3 separate regions of the Homo sapiens genome follow, and all the other regions are linked to region 3. The links are contacts of gene promoters, found by promoter capture Hi-C in human tissues and cell types (Jung and others, 2019). All regions are on one chromosome and are shown on one strand. Each heading gives the region's core, a stretch centred on a gene start or on the middle of the fragment in contact. The rest is flanking DNA. Distances are from core to core; before and after follow the strand shown.

Evidence for each region. The method cuts DNA at HindIII sites, captures the fragments that hold promoters and counts their contacts. A contact is called where the count stands out against the background at its distance.
Region 1: a fragment that was not itself captured here is called in contact with the fragment with the promoter of HOXC4 in region 3 in 3 of the 25 tissues and cell types used here (H1 embryonic stem cells, bladder and neural progenitor cells).
Region 2: a contact is called between a fragment that was not itself captured here and the fragment with the promoter of HOXC4 in region 3, in 3 of the 25 tissues and cell types used here (H1 embryonic stem cells, aorta and liver).

The regions. Positions count from the first base shown.
Region 1 is chr12:54,116,542-54,121,683 of GRCh38, reverse strand. FLJ12825 (a long non-coding RNA gene) reads right to left here. Exons shown (of 2, transcript NR_026655.1): 2 at 1-3,080. FAM242C (family with sequence similarity 242 member C) reads left to right here. Exons shown (of 3, transcript NR_170197.1): 3 at 237-407. Among named protein-coding and RNA genes, the nearest start is that of LINC02381, 7.0 kb to the left of the region's middle. The HindIII fragment of the contact is 9,358 bases long and covers 1-5,142 here.
Region 2 is chr12:54,140,690-54,145,456 of GRCh38, reverse strand. It overlaps SMUG1-AS1 (SMUG1 antisense RNA 1), which reads right to left and starts at 2,855. Exons shown (of 2, transcript XR_007063322.1): 1 at 2,636-2,855. The HindIII fragment of the contact is 5,217 bases long and covers 1-4,081 here.
Region 3 is chr12:54,051,447-54,055,922 of GRCh38, reverse strand. HOXC4 (homeobox C4) reads right to left here and starts at 2,088. Exons shown (of 2, transcript NM_153633.3): 1 at 1,562-2,088; 2 at 1-1,073. The coding sequence starts at 2,000. The coding sequence ends at 718. RefSeq lists a cis regulatory region at 1,797-2,297 and enhancers at 2,874-3,033, 2,329-3,310, 3,311-4,292. The HindIII fragment of the contact is 12,403 bases long and covers 1-4,476 here.

The DNA.
Region 1 (5,142 bases), core at 294-2,793, 66 kb before region 3:
GGAAGAGGACAGCTCGGGTGTGGGTTTGAGCCCTGGATTAAGACTGCCCGTTGTCCACTAAAATCTCTTCTTTCCTTGCTGCACGAGGGTAGAGAGACACCCAGCTGGACACTCCATTTCCCAGCTGCTCTTGTTGCCAGGTGTAGACACAGGGGAATGTGAGGCAAGCATGTCCTCAAAGCCTGATGACATTGGGTAAATTCTCCTTTGTGTTCTCTCTTTCATGAGCTGGGCAGATGTGCCTGAGACAGGTTTGACCAGGCAACTGAAAAGACATCCCTAAGGGAAGACAAAGCAAAGGTATGAAAGGAACACACGTCCCTGACTGACTAGGAGGAACAGAGCTGCCTGCTGTCTGGAACCGCTTCCTCCCAGACTAAGTGAGAAATAAACTTCTGTTTTCTATATGCTACTGTGTTTTGGGGCCTTTGTGTTATAGCAGTTTTGCTGTCATCCTTTCTAATTCACCTTCTCACACCAGATATTTCAAATTAAAAAGATTGTATCGGGCCAGGTGCAATGGCTTGCGCCTGTAATCCCAGCACTGTGTGGGGCTGAGGCAGGCAGATCACTTGAGGCCAGGAGTTCGAGACCAGTCTGGCCAACATGGTGAAACCCCATCTCTACTAAAAAATACAAAAATTAGCTGGACACGGTGGCACACTCCTGTAATCCCAGCTACTTGGGAGGCTGAGACAGGAGAATTGCTTGAACCCAGGAGGCGGAGGTTGCAGTGAACTGACATCATGCCACTGTGCACCAGTCTGGGCTACAAAATGAGATTCTGTCTCAAAATAAAAAAATGATTACATCAGATCACGGAATAACTATAATAATATTTATTGGGCCAGATAAGTATGCGAAGGACTCTATGCACATTATTTAGTGTAATCTATGTGACAATCCTCTGAGATATGTGTTACTATTATTCCAATTTACACACGAGGAAACAGGTTCAAGGAAGGTAAGTTATGTGCTGAGGGACACACAGGAGGGGGTGGAGCTGGATTTCAAGCCCACTGGGTGTGCAGAACTGAGCCTCTTCACCATGGGGGCAAATCCCTCCTGAGGACGGGGCTGGAAAAGCCATGGAGATCATCTTGTGCTTGGACAAGCCTCTCGCCAGTCACCACAGGGCCCTGAGACTCCCATTCCTACCTTCAAGAAGCTCAGCAGCCTACTACTCATGTTCATGTTGGGTCACTGCATACGGTTTTATTTGAAGGAAGGACCCCAGAGTTAAAATCATTTGAAAACCCCTGATAAATTCAGTCCCCTCCCTCTTTTTACAGGTGAGGCCCGGAGACAAGATATGACTTGCTTAAGGTCACACACTTAGTTTCTCTGTCAATCTTTCTAAATCGAGGACGAGTTCTCTTCCCGCTGTATCAGGCTGCCTCAACAAACAGGGAAGTACAAAAATAGCCAAATCCAGGAAGGAGGGCAGTGGTCTGTGTCTCCTCCAATTATTTCATGGGACAGCCAAGCCTATTTCCTTGATTTCCCTTGTGCCCCTCCTGTCGGATATCTGCTTTGGGACCCATCTCTTTTGGGCTTGCAGAGAGGACGGGCTGCACCAGTTCTCTACCCTCCTCATCACCCAGATGGTCAAACATGCAAAGGGAAAGGAGAGCTGGGGCCAGAGCTAAGGCAGGCAAAGAGACTCCTCGACCCCCTCCAGTCTTTCCACATTTATATTTTTGGAATTTCAGGCTCCCTCCTCCCCCTAGACCTTTCCTAGTAGCCCACCAGGGAGAAGAAGAGGGAAAACTGCCATAAATTTCTCCTATTTATACAAGATGACAGAGTTTCTTGTGCCAGAAAAAACACAGAAAGGGAGCTGTCAAGGGAGAAGGGACCCAGCCCTATTCCATCTGGGGTCAATTTATCTTTCCGAATCATGGCTTGGGGGCTACCCTAACATTGCCTGTATGAAATGCAGGCTTTGACTTGGGGCAGCCAGGCCAGACAGCCCCTGAGCTTTGCTTCTGATCACAGTTTTCCTGCTTCATCTCAACTGCCCCCCACCCCTTACGCTGTCTTTTTAAAAAGCAACTTTCTTGAGGTATAATTCATGTGTCATACAATTCACCATTTGAAATGTACAATTCAATGGTTTTAGTATATTCACAAGTATGTCGAACCATCACCATAGTTAATTTTAGAACATTTTCATCACCTCAAAAAGAAATCTTGTAACCTTTAGCTATCACCTCCCTATCCCCCCATATTCCTTCTTGCCCTTAACAACACTAATGTACTTTCAGTCTCTGTAGATTTCCCTATTCTGGACTTTCATATGAATGGCATCATATAATAAGAGACCTTCTGTGACTAGCTTCTTTCATTGAGCATAGTGTTTTCAAAGTTCATCCATGTTGTAGCATTTATCAGTACTTCATTCCTTTTCAGGGCTGACTAATATTCCATTGTATGGATATATCACACTTTGTTTATCCGTTCACCTATTGGTGAACATTTGGGTTGTTTCCACCTTTTGGATATTATGATTCTCTCTTTCCTCTTATTCTCTAGACATCTTGGATAGTATCCAGTGAGGCCTGTGGGCAAGAATGGGTGTTTCTTATATTTGGGAACACCTAATATCCATGAAAGCAGGGTCTTGGCACATGTCTGCTTTCATGTTAAGTACATGTACTAGCTGGAATTTTCCTCCCTCTTGTTACTGAGGTGGGGCTGCTCCCTCCTTTATCAATTCTCCCTTTTTATCAAGATTGCTATGTTGGACACTTGCTGACTCTTCAGACTAGGGGATTCAGATCCTTCTCTTGGGGCTTCAGAGATGTGGAGTGGATGAATGAATGTCTTCCCATCAGGGAAGAGTTTCCTGAGTCTGGTCTCAAGTGATTCTCCAGTGCCTCACAGCAGAAGGAAGGTCTGTGAAGACTCCCCAGGGTCGAGGGAAAGTTACGTTCTTGGAGGTATGACCGAGCCAGAATCCAGGCCTCCAGTTTCCATCTCCTTGCCTGGCCCATTTCAGTCTTCAGACATGCTTTGAGCTCAATCCAGTCACTCACCCAGCAACAGACACTGCCTCTGCCCTCATGGACCTTGCAGTTCTAGTGGTGAGAGTAAGATGAATACAAGTGAACAAAATGATGGCAAGTTGTTCAAGCTTGTTCAAACTTGTAAACACTGTTCAATGAATGAATGAACCAACAAGAACTTACTATGTGCTCTGGAAAGAAAATGTGAAAAAAGTCAGAGTTGTAAATCACTTTCTGCTACCACTACCTTTCCTAGTCTGGAACTCAGCATTACTTCTCCATCCCTTGGAGGAGAGAGTGGGCAGATATTACAAAATGTTAGCTAATAAGAGCTACCATTTGTTGGACCAGACATACACCAAGGGGTTTCTATAGTTCACTAATTTTCACCCTTTGAATTAGGCATCAATATTTCCATTTTGAAGATGAGAAAAACTGAAACTCAGGTTTAAATAGCTGTCTGAAATCACACCCATAGCAGTAAGTGGCAGAACATTTGCTCTGGACACTGGGATAAGTATGTGTGTATGGGTTTTTTTGGTTGTTGTTTTTTGTTTTCTGGGTTTTTTTTTGTTGTTGTTTGTTTGTTTTTGGGACCGAGTTTTGCTCTTGTTGCCCAGGCTGGAGTGCAATGGCATGATTTCAGCTCAATTCAACTTCCACCTCCAGGCTTCAAGTGATTTTCCTGCCTCAGCCTCCTGAGTAGCTGGGATTACAGGTGCCCGCCACCATGCCTGGCTAATTTTTGTATTTTTAGTAGAGACGGGGTTTCGCCATGTTGGCCAGGCTGGTCCCAAACTCTTGACCTTGTGATCCGCCTGCCCTGACCTCCCAAAGTGCTGGGACCACAGGCGTGAGCCACTGCGCCCGGCCATGTATGTGTTTTTATTCCTAGCACTTCATTACAAATACCAACATCTCTTCCTGCGGCCCTACCACAGAGGGAGCTGATCAGTTTCCCCTCCTGCCCAAAGGCAAAGCAGCCACAGTGGAAGTGCCAGAGTCCTCCCTCACAGCCTTCTGTCTAGTGGTTACTCCCGCTTCAAGGCTAAGGAAGGGAAGGACCTGTTTTGCTTTCAAAGGCTTTTTCCTTCCAGCCCTTGCTGTGTGGCCCGTTGTGTGTGGGAGGGACCATGAGAGGCCTGGATATTGTCAACAAAAGACTTGAACAAGCCAAAGAGCTGATGATGTTGACAAGAAGGGGACCTTAACAAGGCAGATAATCAAAAGTTGATGACTGACAGCCCCTTTCGCATCCCTTCACCCTCTGCTAAATCAGGTCTCTTACATGATCTTGATGACAAATAATAAAAATTATAAACACATTATAGTTTTCACATGCATTTGTTCACTTCTCACAGCAAATATGAGAGGTATCTAAGGCTGAGCAGCTTATTACAGAAAAAAGTTTATGGGACTACAACCTTAATTTTATGTAACAAAATTTATATAGAGCTTACCATGGATCATGTACTCTCCTAAATAGTTCAAAACTTTCATTTTAGAGAGATGGGGGTCTTGCAGCCAGGCGCAGTGGCTCACACCTGGAATCCCAGCACTTTGGGAGGCCGAGGTGGACAGATAACCTGAGGTCAGGAGTTCGAGACCAGCCTGACCAGCATGGTGAAACCCCGTCTCTACTAAAAATACAAAACACAAAAATTAGCTGGGTGTGGTGGTTCATCCCTGGAATCCGGAGACTGAGGCAAGAGAATCACTTGAACCCAGGAGGTGGAGGTTGCGGTGAGCTGAGATCATGCCATTGCACTCCAGCCTGGGCAACAAGAGTGAAACTCCATCTCAAAAAAAAGCGGGGGGAGCGGCCTTGCTATGTTACCCAGACTGGTCTTGAACTCCTGGGTTCAAGCAAGCCTTCCACCTCAGCCTTCTGAGTAGCTAGGACTATGGGCCCATGCCACCAGGCCTGGCTGTATCTCATAACTATTAACTCATCTACTTTTTCACCACGATGTGAAGTAGGCATTACTGTTATTCACATTTTTTAAGATGTGGAAACTGAGGCATGGTAATCAAGTATCTTGCCCAAGGTTGTACAGCCAGCAGGTGGTAGAACAGGGATCTTGAGCCCAGCCCCAGTGTCTGTGTCTAACCACTTCGCCAGGTCGGCTTCGCA
Region 2 (4,767 bases), core at 224-2,723, 90 kb before region 3:
CCCATCAGTCCAGCCAAGACCATTCATCTCTCCAGCACTGCTCCCTGCACTCCTCCATCCCTCCATCCATCTGTCTGTCCCTCCTTCTCATGCCCCTCTACTGGAAACTTTACCTCTCTGCCTTTTCCTGGGTAGCATCTTGAGGGGTCATCTCAACCATCCCCCTGCCTTCAGACAGGAGCCTTATTTTACCCCTGGCCCAGCAAGGCGGGGGCTCTCCCAGTTCATCACCTTCCGAGAATGAGGGCTTCGAGTCTGATGATTTTACTCTACAGTACTGACAACCTAGGGAAGTTCTTTCTTCTGTCTAGCTTGTGTGCTTGACATTCACATATGACCACACGTCTGAATGGGAGTGGGTATAAGATTATAGGATTATACTCAAGCATGAGAGTCTCCAGTATTTGTAATATGTACCTCTCTGGCTTAACATGGTATGTAGAGCTCAAGACCAGTGAAATGGGCCTTTCCTCCAGTCTCCCCCAGCAGAGTCTGGCCCAGTGCCAAGCACGCAGTGGGCGTTCGGTGTTGATTGCTTTCTGGCCATCTTCTTATTTGCCAGTGCCAATGAGTCCAGTGGTCTCACATACATCCTGGGGGGGGTTTTGGTGGGATGACTCTGTGGATCTGATACAGGGCAGATTATGGCACCTCTAGCCTGGCAGGGTTTGCAGTAAACACTAAGGAAATGTCTCTTACCTCTATTCTCCCACTCAAATTTCTTTTTTTTTTTTTTTTTTTTTGAGACAGAGTCTCGATCTGTCGCCCAGGCTGGAGTGCAGTGGTGCGATCTCGATTCACTGCAACCTCCACCTCCAGGGTTCACTCCATTCTCCTGCCTCAGCCTCCCGAGTAGCTGGGACTACAGGCGCTCACCACAACGCCCGGCTTATTTTTTGTATTTTTGGTAAAGATGGGGTTTCACCATGTTAGCCAGGATGGTCTCGATCTCCTGACCTCGTGATCCACCCTCCTCGGCCTCCCAAAGTGCTGGGATTACAGGCGTGAGCCACCACGCCCGGCCTATCCCACCCAAATTTCTTAACGCAGGCCTGGGGTAGAGCTTGCCTCAACAACTCGCTCTCGGTAATTGTGGGGCTGAAGAGAGGGAGGACGAACAGGAGGGGCAGCAGGTGCTGGTGGGGCCTTCCATGGCACTGAAGCAGAACCCTCGCATTTGGGGGAAACCCTTATGTTTACCTGCACTAATCAGGAGAGTGCATGGAGGGCGCCGCTGTCCCCTGCCCCAGCCTTAGCATTATGGCCCTTCCCTTTTCAGCCTCTTCACCTCATCCTGGGAGGGGTGACTCTGAGAAAGGGGCTTCTGCAAGTCCCTAAGGAGAGAAGACGGGAGCAGGTCTTTGGGTCCCACCTCAGCGTCTCCATGCGCAGCACCACTGGAAGTTGGGGAACAGGGAACAGGTCTGTCTGTCTGTCTCTGGTCAGTAGAGAATTTTGGTCAGGCTCTAGTAACCCTGCAGAGGGATAAAGTGGGTATGGGGGGTGGAGGTGGAGTTACAGGGAGAGATGAGGGCAGTACTTGTGACAGGTGTGTCCTTCCCTGGATCCAGTCATGAAGAGTGGGAGGGAGAGAGGAGAGGGAGGGGAAACATGAACTTTCACGTGCCCTGAGAGAGCTGGTGTTTCACCACTGCCAGCCGCTCCCCGAGACCTGGGATGCCTTGTTGAGCATCTGCCCTGCTCCCAGACCAGACTAGACCAGGCAGGGAATCCCGATGCATGCTTCTCCCCTGTCCCCACACTAACTCCCACTCCCTTTCCCCTTGTTGCTGGTCCCCTGCATGGAGTCACTGTGAGTACACAGGATAGGTGAGGCTCTACAGCTGTTATTGAGTTGTGAGGATCCTTGACCTTGTCCCTCTCACTCCCCTACAGGGAGAGGAGGCTCTAATTGTAGTCAGAAAGATAAGAAGGGTGTCTTGGAGAGGAGAGGGGCTGGGGGGGCCGTGGGGAAGCTAACCACTTGCCCCAGTCGTGTGAAGGTAAGTGTGGGAGGGGAGGGGCCTGCAGGTAGCAAGGCCCAACTTAAGAATGATGAGGTGCTTCTTAGTTCTCTGAGCTATAGACATGTGAAGTATGTAAGACCATGCGAAAGGATAAATTATCACCTAAGGAGGAGAGGACATGGGGGAATAAGAAAAAATTCAAGCCAGGGAGACCCAATGCTACCACCCCCATCACCATCATGACCTGATCCATCTGTGCTGGACTGGATTAAAGTCCATAGGGAGGGGGAGGCCTGAGAACTGGCCCTGAGGTCTTCAGAGGAAAAGCTGATCCCCCACCGTGCATTTGCTTGATGTTACACAGAGCAAGGGGGAGCTGGGAACAGCTGCTCAAATTCTTCAGGTGGGGCAGCCACGGGGAGCTCCCCATCCTCCTTCTTCCTTCCTTGCACCCACCTCTCTCCAACCCCTCCTTCTACCTAGTCCGCTGAGGAACAGTGCCCTCTTCTCCCATTGGCCCGCCTCTCGTGGTTGTCCCCAGCCTCTTGGGCTAGGCCCTCCTCACCCACTCAGTGGCTCCTAACCTCTCTTGTCTCCTCTGAAACTCCTCTTCCTGCAAGAAGCATCCCAGGCTGCTTCTCCCCTCCCCCCAAAAAAAGCCCACTTACCCAGACTTGCAGCTGATGAAAATCCTTTAGGATCCACTCGTGGGCTGCTGCCTTGGGTCCTGCAGGGTCTGGAGATTCCTTTGTTTGTCTGTCCTCTATTGCTCAACATCCACATGTCCAATTTAGGCTGGGATTCCCACAATACAAGTGAGGAGCCAAGTCTTTTTTTTTTTTTTTTGAGATGGAGTCTCGCTCTGTTGCCCAGGCTGGAGTGCAGTTGTGTGATCTCTGCTCACCGCAAGCTCTGCCTCCCCGGGTTCACGCCATTCTCCTGCCACAGCCTCCCGAGTAGCTGGGACTACAGGCGTCTGCCAGGATGCCCAGTTAATTTTTTGTATTTTTATTAGAGATGGGGTTTCATCGTGTTAGCCAGGATGGTCTCGATCTTCTGCTCTCGTGATTCCCGCAAAGTGCTGGGATTACAAGCGTGAGCCACTGTGCCTGGCCGAGCCTGGGGTTTTAAAATCTATTTGACAGCCCTTCTTCTGACATCATGAGGCAGAAATGTCTTGAGGAATGCTGGGAGGTCTTAGACGACCAATGAGCGGGACTGGTACACTTTCCCCCAGGGAAGCCACCTCATGCTACAGCAAGTAGTGACAGAGGCTAGACAATGGGAAGAACTGTAATCTCTTAAAATTGAAGGAAAGATTTCCAGGGTTTCACTGAAGACCTTGAGGAGGAATGACTTTAATCTTTTCAAGCTCTGAGGGAGCAGAGAGGCCTGGGAGTCTGGAAAAGTTTCTGTCCACTCTTGCAGAACTGACTCAAAGAGGGACGGCCACTTTCTTTTTCAAGAGCCCTGACTCATCCACGTTCAGTCCAATTCCACTCACAATTTCTTAGATAATTGTTTCTTTCTTAGACAGAAATTTGGTTCTGGAATTCCCTGTCCTATTCCTCCCATGACCTGGGAACCATCTTTAGGAACCAACTTCAGCTTATGGTGCCAGAAAAACAGAGATGTAGAGACATTTTTGGACAGTCACACAGCAAACCATCAAGGAGCTGGGAATGCCCCCTTATGGATCCTCTTCTCTTCTCTGGATGTGAAGGGAAAGGATATGATCCTAGGGGGAAGGGTGGGGTTAGTGAGAGCTGGAAGAGCACCCCCGCCCAGCAGGCCCAGATCCAAATGTGCACATGATGGAAATGCCTTTATAGCCAAGGGCCCCTCCCTCCCAAAAATAAAATCCCACAATTGGGGAACATCTGGATCAAACCACAGCCATGAAAGCGCAACATCAAACGAGGGTTTCTGAGCGACCCTCCCCGCAGGCCCTGGTCCAAGAGAAATTGCAGAACTTCCTGCTTGAAGCTTTTAAGTGTCACAGAACCCCTCAAATTTGGGATTGCCCCCTATTTGCTGGAGACAGATGTCCCCGAGTGTGGTTGGGCCTGATTGCCCCCAGCGGGATAGAGTGTGTGTGACCTGATCTTACCCCCAGCTAATCCAGGCAGGAAAGCTGTGATGAGGGGCTCCAGCCTTTCAGGCTGGGGGCTGGGGAGAGAGGGGACAGGTGGGCCTTCTGAAACGTGCCTACATCAAAGGTTTGAGTACCCTCCCTTCCAAGCTTTGGCGCCTCCGGCGGGGAGGAAAGCAGTGATTTCACCACATAACTGCACGTAGGGCGGATCTCAGTCTGAGAACTTCTGGGGAATGTGGAGAGGGGAGGGACGGTGCTTCCCAGAGGGGAGGAAAGGGCAAGGAGGGTTCTCGCTTCCAAAATAGCCTACCCAGGCCAAGGAAAACGGGGCCATATGCAGCCTCCCTCCTGCTCTGGCCTCTGTGGAGGGAAAGCTGAGGGGAGGGTGCATTCTTCCAAGGGGGGAGGAGGAGCAGCTATAGCAGGAGGAGGGCAGGAGCCAGATCACAGATGGAGAGCGGTGGGGAACAGGGGCATCTTCCACACACAGGGGCATGAAAGAGGAAGGCTGTAGGGTATGTGAATTCCAGGAGACAGTAGGCGCTCCCCTCCCTGTTCCCCAGGCTCTGTCCTGTCTCAGGAATCATAGAGTGTCTGGTCATGATGCTGGCAGGGTGGGATCGACTGTGGGGCACATGGGTTAGGGAGGCACCCCATATCTGGCTGGAATCCCAGTTCAGATTTGGATCATTTGAGGATGAGTGA
Region 3 (4,476 bases), core at 839-3,338:
AACACAATAACCACGATAGGGGTGGGGAGAGATTCTACCTATAGACTGCCTCTCTGAACTGAAAGTTCATTTTGATTTTCTTTTGGCTCCTCAAACTGAACAGCTCTGAGAGGCTCTCCAGATGCATTTAGCTTTGTCTGCTGTCTTCGCCCCCTCTCCTCCCACACCCCCCCCCAACAATAATACAAAAGAACTTCATAGCTTTGTTCTCCTTAAAATGACTTCCCCCTCACTAACCTCCCCTGGTGCATTTTCAATGCAAAAGGCCTAAGGAAAGAGGGGGGGAAGGAGGAGGAGGAGAAGGATGAGAATTGGCTTTAAAATTTCTTTCCTTTTTTCTTTTCCTCATTTCCCCTGAAATTCACCCAAGCCAGACCATCACACCTTGCAATATATAATTTTTGCAGCTTTTTTTCTTAAAAAATAAATAACCCCCCAAAATGGCCTTTTAAAAAAAAACACCCAGCAGGTACCATGCTAAGACAACATCACATGCTTAAAAGGGTCCTTAACAGTGGGAGGGAGAGGAGGGCAGGGGGCTTGTTTGTTTATCTGTTTTGTCTGTTTGGAACTGACAAGGGACAAGGTGAGAGGAAGAGAGAAAAGAACCTATATATATATATATATATATATATATTAAATTCTATAAATAAGAGTCAATTTGTGTGTGAGGGGAGGGTGGGGGCATGGGGTGGGGGCAGGGGTGTGAGTTATGTTTTATAACCTGGTAATGTCCTCTGCCCGTTGCTGCTCCGGCGGCGTGGCGCTCTGGGAGTGGTCTTCAGAAGTACCCGGGGTAGCTGCCGAAAGGGTGCTGGGCGCAGCGCCGGCCGGGGGTGCTGACCTGACTTTGGTGTTGGGGAGTCGGTGGTCCTTCTTCCATTTCATGCGACGGTTTTGGAACCAGATTTTGATCTGCCTCTCAGAGAGGCACAGCGAGTGGGCGATCTCGATCCTTCTCCTTCGGGTCAGGTAGCGGTTGTAATGAAACTCTTTCTCTAATTCCAGGACTTGCTGCCGGGTATAGGCTGTCCTCGAGCGCTTGGGTTCCCCTCCGTTATAATTGGGGTTCACTGGGGGGAGGGGAAAAGCAAATAGTGGGGTTCAGAGGCAGCAGGCTCCCCGCCCCCCACCCTCACCCCATCCTCAGCTCTGAGAAACAGGAGGAGGGAGTGGTGGAAATAAAGTCATCAAGCTTAAATGGGTTATAAAGAAGTTGAAGGAAGCTGAAGACTTTGTAGTGTAATAAGAGGGGAATCCTCATTGTAACGACACTGAATTATTTATGCGCCCTTAGAAAGCGAGCATAGTTTTCACACATACATAACAGATCGTAGCACATGGCTCGGACTGCCCAGAGTAGCTAAGCCATAAAATTTATGGGGGATGTAATTACCCATTCTCGCTCGTAAATCCAGTTCAATTGTGCTAACCCAGAGTCGCTCCTGGAGAGAGAGGGGGAAGGAGAGAAAGGAGGACGGGGGCCAGAGGGGGCCGAGGAGGGTGGGGAGCGCTAGGGAAGAAGGGAGGGAGGGGGGGAGCAAAAAGCAAAGTTGCCTACCCGTGCTAACGTGAATTTTTTTCATCCATGGGTAGACTATGGGTTGCTTGCTGGCGGCGCTGGAGGGATGGTCGGGGGCTGGCTGGCTGCAGGCTGGCGGGGCTGGGGACGGGGAGGCGGAGGCGCCTGAGAGAGGCGCCGGCTCGCAGAGCGACTGTGATTTCTCGGGGTGGTGGTGGCCCGCCTGGGCCGGCCCGTGGCCTCGCGAATTGCCGGGCCCCTGGAGACTGGTGCAGCTATACTGGCGCTCAGGGTAGCTAGGGCGCGGAGGCGGTGGTGGGTACAGCTCCTGGTGGTGATGCTGGAATCCCGATTCCCTGGTCCGGCCGTAATATTCCGGACTGTGTTCAGGGATGTAGCTATTTTGCGAATATTCTTCGCATGGAGGAAATTTCGGATCGATGTAGTTAGAGTCCATCAAATACGAGCTCATGATCATTAATTTCTGGAGTGGAAAATAATTTTTCTCGCTTTGTCGTTTTTCTGCTCCATAAAGCCCTCCTACTAGCTAGCGACCCTGTAAAGTTACTTTCACCATGTGACTCCTCCGGCCAATCACACGGAGCAACCCAGTCCCCGGATAAGGAACCGAATCGCTTTATTCAAAATGTATCCAATTTTTTTGTGTGTGTGGTGGTGGTGGTGCTGGGAGGCGGGGGTGGGTGGTGATGTGGGGTTAGCTAGCAGAGGTTGGAGTGCCCCCAGTGCACATCCCGCCAGACTGACAACCCTCCCCTGCAAAAGGAGATGGGAAGCTCCCGGCTCCCCTCCAAAGCCCGGGCATTGGGGGACTGTCGGGAGGCAGTGATTCAGCCCCCGCCCAGGGTCTCCCCTCAGGCCTCTGCTGGGCCCCGTGGGCCTCGGCTCCTGAGCTTTTCCAGAGGTCTCCATTCATGGCGATCGTGTCTCAGTCTGTGTAGGTCACGGGGCAGCGCCCCTCTTTCGCAGGAAGAGGAAGTTGAATGAGGACTGGAGTGGATGTTGGATGGGGAGGGGCCCAGGCTGAGCCGAGGAGGCTGGAGAGCCTGGAGTGCCCCCCATCCAAGGATACCAGAGTCCAGCCCCTCTTCCCCATACACACTCACCCAACCCTCTGGCCATGCGGCCGGCGAGGCAGGGTCCCAGCTGGACCAGGCAGGTAGAGGCAGCGGGATGCAAATGATTCTGACGTCATTTCTGGAGGTCTGGGGGTTGAGCCCCCGCTGAAGAGAGACAGGAAGTGGTTGGCAAAAGCAGAGTTCAGAAGTCTCGCCTTCCCCTGCTACCCACTGACCCTCCCTGCCCCAGCCCCAGAGCAGAGGATCTCTTCTACTGCTGGCTTCTGTTTCCACTCCCCATTCAGCCCGGCCTGCTATTTTCTGACAATTATCTCCAAGGAGCTGGGGCAAGGAGGAGAGCTTTCTGCCAGGAGTCAGTGCCCTGTGATGGTGCCCAGCCAAGATCCTGAGAGTTCTTTCTCTGTCCCCACAGAGGGCAGACCTAGCTAAGAGGGAGGCCTGTGTGGGTAGAGCCTGCTTGCTTCTGGCTAGGAGCTGTATCCATGTAACACGTGTGTTTACATGTAAACACGAATTCCTAAAGGCCAGCTCCAGGCTGCTTTCCAAAAACGGAAGGCTAAGCTCACCAAGTTGGGGAGGCACGGCCAGCCTTTGGGGTCTCCAGCCCATTCACACCCCCTGCTCTCTCTCTGCCACCCACTCACAGTAATACTCTGATGGAGGGGGGTGACAGGGCCGTAGAGGAGGGAGGGGGCCAGGAAAAGCTGCTTTCCTAACCACCACCCCCCCCCCCCAGCTAGGGGTGGTCCTGTCATGCCACCGATTCCAATTAACTGATCGCCCATAACTCAGAGTTGCGGGGGGTAGCGGAGGGGAGAGCCCAGGGAGGGAGCCGGGTCCCCTTGTTGTACTTGATAACAATTATAGTTTAAAATCATAGCTTGCCAGGGCTCAGCTATATTTTACTTGATAACAATAAAAGTGACACATAAAGTTAACTGTTTATGTTTTATTTATTAGACTAAATCTGCCAGCGGTGGTAGGAGCGCTTGCCTCGTCGCTACAGCTTTTATAGGGCTGTAAAACGTCATAAATCAGTCTCGCGGAATCGCCCGCACTCTTTGTGTCGGCGGCGGCGCAGGGCTGGCGGCCGCTGGCTGCCTGCTCCCTCCTTTCCACGAAAAGTCGTAATGTGATTTTTTTTCCCTCTGATTTTATTATTATGATCGCCGCCGTGATTAGTCAATCTACCTTTAATTCGCCGCCCTACGCTACCTCCTCCCAGCCCAGCCTGGTTGACACTTGAATAAGTACCTTTTAAAACGGCATAACAACTATTTGAGGGTTTAATTAGAACATCTGCAATTAAGGGAATGAGGAGGGGAAAGGGAAAAAAAAAATAAAGCCCTTGTGAGAGGGAGACTGAAGGCAAGAGATTCCAATCCTTTTCTCATCACCTTTGGGATGTTGGAGAGGGTCCCCACTTCCAAATTAGGGCTTCCCCAAAGGGCTGGAATGAGAGGGAAGCTGGACCCACAGCCGTGCCCAAAGGGTGCGGATTCCCGCCTGGGCCCTCGTTGCCTTCCCTCCTCCAATGCTTAGGCCCCCAGCCCCACCCCAGGCTCAGCAGGGCCAGGGCTTAGCTCCCAAGGAGCTGGTGCTTGGTGGTCCCTGAATACTCTCTCTCCAAGAGGACAGTGCCCATCCCCACTGTAACCAGGCCAGGTGAAGGAACAGGAGTTCCCCAGAGGCTGAACACCTCTAATGGAGATTCCCAAATTCTCAGAGTTGGCTGAGAACCCTTGCCCACTCTTGTCCGGAACTCTCTGCATGTGAGGACAGGCTGGTTTGGTTGGAGAGGAAGTTGAGACTGTGAGTGAGGGGGCGGAGGAAGGCTACTGCTTGGTTAATAGTGGT